Regions from separate parts of the Homo sapiens genome. Here region 2 is linked to region 1. Evidence: promoter capture Hi-C in human tissues and cell types (Jung and others, 2019). All regions are on one chromosome and are shown on one strand. Each heading gives the region's core, a stretch centred on a gene start or on the middle of the fragment in contact. The rest is flanking DNA. Distances are from core to core; before and after follow the strand shown. Region 1 holds the start of CD93 (CD93 molecule). Region 2 has its middle 43 kb from the start of LINC01427.

Region 1 (3,775 bases), core at 716-3,215:
TCGCTCTCCGCTTGCGATAGACCAGTAGCCCCAGAGCCAGGGCCAGCAGGAGTAGGATGGCCACCACGGTGCCTAGGATGTAGAATAAAAGCAGCTTTTGCCCGTCAGTGCCATCGTTGTTTTGTGTGGCCACGGAGGAGTCCCCACCTGCAGGCTCCTGGGGGCCAGAGGCAGCTGTGGCGTGATGGATGCTGGGCTCCCTCCAGACGCCTGGGGACCCACTGGGGGCCAGCATCTTGAGTGGGGCAGATGTGATGGGGGCGTCAGATGACAGCGAAGGTCTACTTGTGGTGGGTGTAGCCTTGGGGGTGCCCTCGGGGCCCCTTGTGGGACTGGCTGTTGCAGCACGGGGCACGGTGCTCCCTTCTTTCTCTCCTTTGTCCTCCTCATCGGGGGGCCCAGATGGTGGTCCCAGAGACACAGGCCCCATGGTGCAAGAGACCCCATTTGGGGCCAGCACCCAGCCTGGCAGGCAGCCACAGTGGAAGGACCCTTGTGTGTTGAAGCACAAGCTGTCGCAGAGGGGGCCCCCCGGGCCCACACACTCATCCACGTCCTGGCACTGAGTCCCGTCCTCCCCGGCCAGGACGTAGCCCTCCTCACAGGAGCAGTGAAATGAGCCATCTGTGTTGGTGCAGCCCTGGGCGCAAGGCGAGCGACCCAGAGCACACTCATCCACATCCTGACAGGCCCCCTCTCCAGGACCGCCCGGCTCATAGCCAACCCAGCATTCGCAGCGGAAGCCCCCAGGGGTGTTGACACACTCCTGGGCACAGGGGGAGTCCTGGCATTCATCCACGTCCACACAGTCCAGCTGACTCGAGTCCAGCTGGTACCCTTGGGGGCAGCGGCACGTGTAGTTTTTCCCATGGGGTCCCAGGACGCACGTGGCCCCCCCACGACATGGGCTGGAGCTGCAAGGGTTTCGAGAGGCACAGGTCACCAGGTCATCCAGCAGCCGGAATCCTGGTCGGCAGCCGCAGAGGAAGGAGCCATCCCCCCCTTCAAAGCAGTCCTGGTGGCAGCCCCCATTGTTGAAGTTGCAGCCATACTTGGGGCTGACACAGAGGGGGCCCGAGCTGCCCCAGTCGAACACATCGGGGGCCTTCTCCTTGCACAGGAAATAATGACTCTGAGTCTCGTCCTTGTCACCTTCCCCACAGGCTACATTGGCCGCAGAGGCAAAGGGCACAGCCTCCAAGGAGGAACTGGTGGTCTGGAAGGGGGTGGTGTAGGTCACCTGACCTGGGCCCCCCAGGGCCAGAGGCCGGCACATGCCTTTGAAGCTGAACTTGCACACGAAGCCCTCAATGTTACTTCCGGGGGAGCCTGGGCTCCCACAGGGGCCCTCAGACCACTTGGGGAGGCGGCTGGGAAGGAGCGGCTGGGACAGGTCCAGCAGCAGAGACACACAGCGCTTGGAGATGCACGAGTTCCGGAGCTCCTTGTGCCAGTTAGAGTAAGGCGTGTCCTCCCCCCCGCCCACCCAGCTGAAGCCCTTCAGCGGCAGACTAGGGTCCAGGCACTTGCCCTTCTCTCGCTGGAGCCCAATCCAGAACTTGCTCATCCTCGCCGTCAGGGCTGCCTCCCGCCTCAGGAGCTGGGCCAGTACTCGCTGGACGTGCTGGGCCTCCTCCTTGCTCTTCACAGTGGCCAGGTTGCCCCCGTTCTGGTTGCAGTGGTTCTGGGCCTCGGCAGCGCTCAGCTTGCCCGAGTGGGCCGTGTAGCAGGCGGTCCCCACGCAGACCACCGCCTCCGTGTCAGCTCCCGTCCCCGCCCCGGGCTGGGTCAGGAGCAGCAGCAGCAGCAGCAGCAGGCCCATGGAGGTGGCCATCCCGGTCTCTGTGTGGCCCTCTGCGGGAGGCGAGAAGCCCAGCGGCGACAGGAGCTTCTATCTCGGCTCCCAGCTGGGCCCCAAGGGGAGCTGAGGGGTGAGCTGCAGCCACTCCGGCGCAGAGAAGGACACAAAGGCTGAGGGCTTTCCACGTCCCCCTGACCCAAGGCGCATCCTGTACTGTTGTACTTCTTATTTCTCACCGGATGTTGGGGCTTCCTGCAATGAATAGTTCTCTGACTCCTGCTGCCTTCATCACGGTGCTGTTGTTCATAAAAGGAGTCAGGCAGCTCTGCCGGGTCCCTGGCTCAGCACTGTGGAAACAGCGACGGGGGGAAGACGTTACAGCCCCGAGATACTGCCGGCTTGATTTTGGCTCCATTCTCTTTCTCATGGCATGAGGAGCCTCGGAGGCATGCCATGGAGTGAGCAGGGGCTTTGGGGGCTAGGAACTCGAGGAAGCTCCCTTAGTAACCCATAATAAAATTCCACTTTGGTTTGCAAACCACCAAAAGAGAAAAAAAAAATTCTGAGACTTAAGACACAAGGCCATGGATGGTTATAATTTTCAGCCTTTTTTAGAAGCAAACTGGACTTTCCTTTTGCCTAGCTCATGTTCTCTGTTGACTTTGGGAGCCTTTTTTCTTTTATCCTCCCATCGTGAACCTTAAATAGACAGGCATTTTTTAAATAGGATACGGGTCGTGGGAATGTCTGGGTTTTCAACATAATGCCAAGCTCCTCGATAATGTTAATCCAAATTGGGTGAAATTTGGCAGTTCTGGGGGTTTCATAGTGGAAATATTGCATTGTGAGGTGTCAGGGTCACAAAAAGCATCAGAAAGAAAATGAAAATGTGTCCGGCCTCGTGGCGCAGGGCTTGCAGGCTCACTTCCCCCGGCTCAGGATTCCTAGCAAGGGCCGGAAATCTGGGCAGGGAGCGGGAATCGAAGCCCGGGCAGGCCCTCCCGCGACACCGCGACTCGGCAAAAGCCAGGGACTCACAGTGTGCTTTTCCTGCAGCCACAGACCTTTGCTCATTGGTTGGGATCCCCCAGGAGGGGACCCTGAGACAGGATTTGGGGAGACTAGTTTATGTGGGAGGGGAAGTGAAACAGACAAGGAGGAAGCCAACCCATGATGACTTGCTGAGAAGGTGACCCTGGGCTGCTGGAGCCAGTGCCAGGAAACTCTGGGGGCCTGAGGGGACCACACCTCAGCACCATCTCAGCTGAGGGAGAGGCTCCACTGCTCTCCAAGTCCCCTGTCATTGGTAGCAGGCTGTATCTCTCACTTTGAGAGACTGACTATAAATTCTAGCCCTGCCCAGTGACCAGGGGTCTCTCTCACATAAAACTTGTTTCTATGGACAGACACCCTTGTGGCTCTCGTCTGACCCATGTCCAGTTTATTCCTATCAAGACAGCCACTTCCTAAGAGATCCCTGATGGGAGGAGAGTTGGGTTGGGGTGTGGGTCAGGGGAGATGCAGGAGGCAGCACAAGAAGACACAGGAAGCAACACAAGCACCGTGTCACTTACAGATCCCAGGGAGAGGGCAGTGCACCCCACGGGGCCAGCAAAAAGTGGGGAGCTGTCTGGGTCACAAACACTCACCTGGAGGGGGGTGAAGGGAGAGAGAGAGACCTGGGTCCTAAGCCTTTATTGGGGTCCAGGACGTTTCCCAAGCAGGTTTCCCAAGGGGACTTCTCACTGGTGGGTTTAGAGCAAACAGACACGGGCTCCGTGGGGTCCCTGTGGCTGAGAGGTGGGCATGGCGGCATGTCTGGGAAGTCCCTGTGGGGTGTGGAGTCACTGAGACCATCAAATGGGCTGTATCTGCCTGTCCCACAGGGAAATGGTCACCAGGAGGTGGGTGTACAAGGCAGATATCTGGGTTGGCCGCATTGAGGAACTGGGAGGGGGTGGAGCCCTAGACACC
Region 2 (3,775 bases), core at 543-3,042, 760 kb before region 1:
GTATTCGTTTATTGTTGTGCCTATAATAATTGTTAAAACTTTTTAACATTTGATTAGTTTTTTAAAAAATGCATTAAAGATGAGTCTAAAAAGTGTCAAAATGCTCATTATTTAGAACAATGAAAAAAAGTTTTGCCTTTCCTGTTTTAATTTGAAATTTCTTTTGCCTTCTTTGTTTTGGTGTGTGGATGAAGTAGCCTTATTTCTTATATTTCCAATTTGCATCTTGGGGTGGGAGTTGCTATCAGGCCAACATCTTCAAAGTGAAACAAAAAGAACGCAGGGAGCAGTTATGTCTTACATCGTACTCAAACAGGCCTTAGTTTTGCCAAGAACAAAAGCAGCTGTGGATTTGGAACAAGATTATGTTATGGGTGGCTGCACAGTCATGGATCTCTCATATGAGAATTGAGGGTGTGGAGCACATTTATGATTCAGAAAGGAGAAAGAAGGACTTGTGTGTTCAGGACCTTGGGGTAAGGTTAGAATAACACACTTTTCTATCTCAAGTTAACCAACTGGAAATTGGACTTCTCTTGAAGCTAGAGAATCCATCAGTCACCTGAATTAAAAAGAGGTGATTCTAAAGCTTTCATCAAGACCTGAAACCTTGATGCCCCAGAAATTGGTGCATTGGTCGGGTATGGCCTTAGTGGTGCTGTGGAGTGGATGGTGTTCGTTTGTGAGAGCACCCACTCCTAAGTAATAGTGATGGGGGCCCCTGTGTTCAACACCTTGCTCCTGCCTTTTCCCACATTTATTCAGCTCACAGACACATAAATCTCAAAGTCACCCACATCCACACTGGCACTTGTGCCCAGGCGAACATTGATAAAGTAGACTCTGCTTCATGGACTCTACCCACAGGGGGGAACTGGATGGAAGCATTAGGCAGATTATAATAAGCCTCACAAAATTTGGATTCATTGATTTTGTAACTTTGATGGCACCCAAATTTACCAAGTCTTGTCTGGATCCTTAGGATATCACACCAAGAAAGATTATTCCAAATAGGTCTACAGGTAATCAGTTATTCTCAAAGCCAGTTGTCTACAACTGAATTTCCCAAATCTGTCCTAGGAGGTTTGGTCAATGCCCAAGTTAATCAGATACCTTCATGTTCATCGGAGGCTAAGAGTTGCCTGTTAATATAATGCCTGAGTAAACAGGTGGTGTTAACTATCATAGTGATACTTTCCCCCTCCTTCATAAAACTTTAAAAGTCAGGCCATTTAGTATTACATTTATACAACATGTAAGGACAGACTGGAACAAATGGAATCTTGTCTAGTTGAGAAATATTAAGTTGTTCTCTATACCACCTTTCCACAAGCAAGTAAATCAATTCAAAGCATTCCATCCAAGAAACTGGAAGTCTCTTGATGTGCGTAGCTGTGATAGCAAGATTATAAATGGGAAAAATGAGGTATATATTTGAGAACAGTTCCCTTCTAACCCCTAGAATTCCTAAGATTATCACTCAGTGGTCAAGATGGTCATAGAAATATGGTTCTCATGGGGAAACCAGATGGCGGGAGCAGGGTTCCTGAAGAGACCATCATCACCGTTCCTAAGGAGTGCTCTTACAAACCAACAGCACCCACTCTACTCTCCACCCAGTTAATTCTGTCCATCTTTCAGTTTATTGCAAATCCCTCACCTCCATGCAGTTTCCCCTGATCCCTGCAGTGGGCCAGGCCTCCTGGTTACCTGCTCCCATGGCACCCTGCACTGCTCCTGGTAATACTTAGCAGAGGTGTGGTAAATCATTACTAGTGTAAGTTTATAAGCAAGGTGGGGATGGGGGTCTTGCCTGTATTATTTTCACACAATGTTTCTACATCATAGATTCTCAAAAAAAAATTGTTTAATAAAACTAATGGTGGATAAGTGAGTGAATGTGTGTGTGAACAAAAGTCACTTATATGTAAATGTCTGACAAGGAAGAGCTGAGTAAATGTATATTTTCATCTTTCCTCATATATCACAGTGTGGGGGACAACTAACCCCTCTACATGGATATTAGAAGCCAGGCTTGGTTGGCTGCTATGGAACATGCAAAGCCATGTGGCCCAGTGGAGTCTACAGAGAGGTTCATGCAACAACTTGCCCTTCAGTCAATTAACTTTTCTTTCAGAAAAAGTCCCAAATAAATTGGAAACACTTTGGAAATTTGCACTTGCTTCATATGAATAAAACAGAATGTGCAGTATTTTTCTATAAGAAACCCTTACCTGAGGTCAAAGGAATCTTAAATTATTTTTAAAAAATGAATTCTTTCTTGCAACAGGACTACATTTAAATCATGATAAATAAACTGAAAACATAAATAACTCCATTTCAAGGGAAGCCCTGTTCTACCCATTCTACCACCAGGCTGATTCTACTTATGCATGGACCAGATCCTTTCTTCTGCACATAATTACATCTCCACCCTGGCTTATCAAAGATGGAGACTGGCTGGTTGATGATTATGCCTACCTTGAAGATGTTCCTGGGCTTTATCTTTTTTTGTGGTTGTTCCATTCTGTTCTTAGAATTCTTTGATCTTATTGTATATTATATTATCTCCAGTATTAGGTCATATTGGGCCATAACATTGTCATTATTATTTTGAATTCTACTGAGATCTTGCAAAATTCATGAGTGCCTTAAATGTTCTATGCCTCTGTAAGCTTTTGATATAGTTCTATTGGTATTGTGATGGCAGTAACTGACTTGGCATTGATATTGGTATGTCAGGCGAGGTAGAAAGGGCACTAAATTGTGGACTAGGCTCCTGCTCTCAATTCCTACCTCCACCGTTATTGCCATGGAACCCTCAGCTCTCTGAGCTTCTATCTCTTCATACCTAAAATGAGGACACGGACTAGTCCTGAGGTTTCTAACCCTGGCAGCTCATTGAAATCACCTGTGTATGAATTACCCTGCAGGCTCCAGAGCCTACCCCGGGAGACTGGGTTCAGTTGGTCTGGGTGGGAACCAGATGGACTGGATGTGATTTGAGGGTACCTGCAGCTAAGAGCTCAAGAAATTTAGAAAGATGAGGATCTGGGTCAACTTTGTGGGTGAAGTTCACTTAAACTGGACTTTAAAATGCAGACAAGATTTCAATAAGTAGAAATGGGTGATGGTCTTTGGGAGAAATTAAAAAAATAGAACATGTAGAACATGTGCATGGATGTGAAAGAGTGAAGTTTTGTCAATGAAGGCTGGGTGTGGTGGCTCATGCCTGTAATCCCAGCACTTTGGGAGGCCGAGACGGGTGGACCACCTGAGGGCAGGAGTTCGAGGAGCCCGGCCAACACAGGAAAACCGTGTCTCTACTAAAAATACAAAAATTAGCCAGGCTTCGTGGTGGGTGTCCGTAGTCCCAGCTACTTGGGAGCCTGAGGCAGGTGAATCGCTTGAACCTGGGAGGCAGAGGTTGCAGTGAGTCGAGATTCATGCCACTGCACTCCAGCCTGGGAGACAGACCAAGACTCAAAAAAAAAAAATATATATATATATATACACATATATATATATATATATACATATATATATATATATATATATATATATATACATATATATATATATATATATATATATATATATATATATATATGAAGTTTGAGGTGGATTGACCAACAGGTTCCTTGCTTTTCTGGACAGAGTGTTTCTTGGGAGTAAGGGACACACTAGAAAGGCTACATTGATCCAGCAACTCATCTTAGTGGATTTAATAATTCGGGAGCATGAGGTGTCTCACCTCACATGGTTCCACCTTGGA

The links. The method cuts DNA at HindIII sites, captures the fragments that hold promoters and counts their contacts. A contact is called where the count stands out against the background at its distance.
Region 2: a contact is called between a fragment that was not itself captured here and the fragment with the promoter of CD93 in region 1, in 2 of the 25 tissues and cell types used here (heart right ventricle and thymus).

Annotation. Positions count from the first base shown.
Region 1 is chr20:23,084,359-23,088,133 of GRCh38, forward strand. It overlaps CD93 (CD93 molecule), which reads right to left and starts at 1,966. Exons shown (of 2, transcript NM_012072.4): 1 at 1-1,966. The coding sequence starts at 1,834. RefSeq lists enhancers at 1,950-2,129, 3,657-3,775. The HindIII fragment of the contact is 11,168 bases long and covers 1-3,775 here.
Region 2 is chr20:22,324,312-22,328,086 of GRCh38, forward strand. No RefSeq gene overlaps it. Among named protein-coding and RNA genes, the nearest start is that of LINC01427, 43 kb to the left of the region's middle. The HindIII fragment of the contact is 4,978 bases long and covers 1-3,775 here.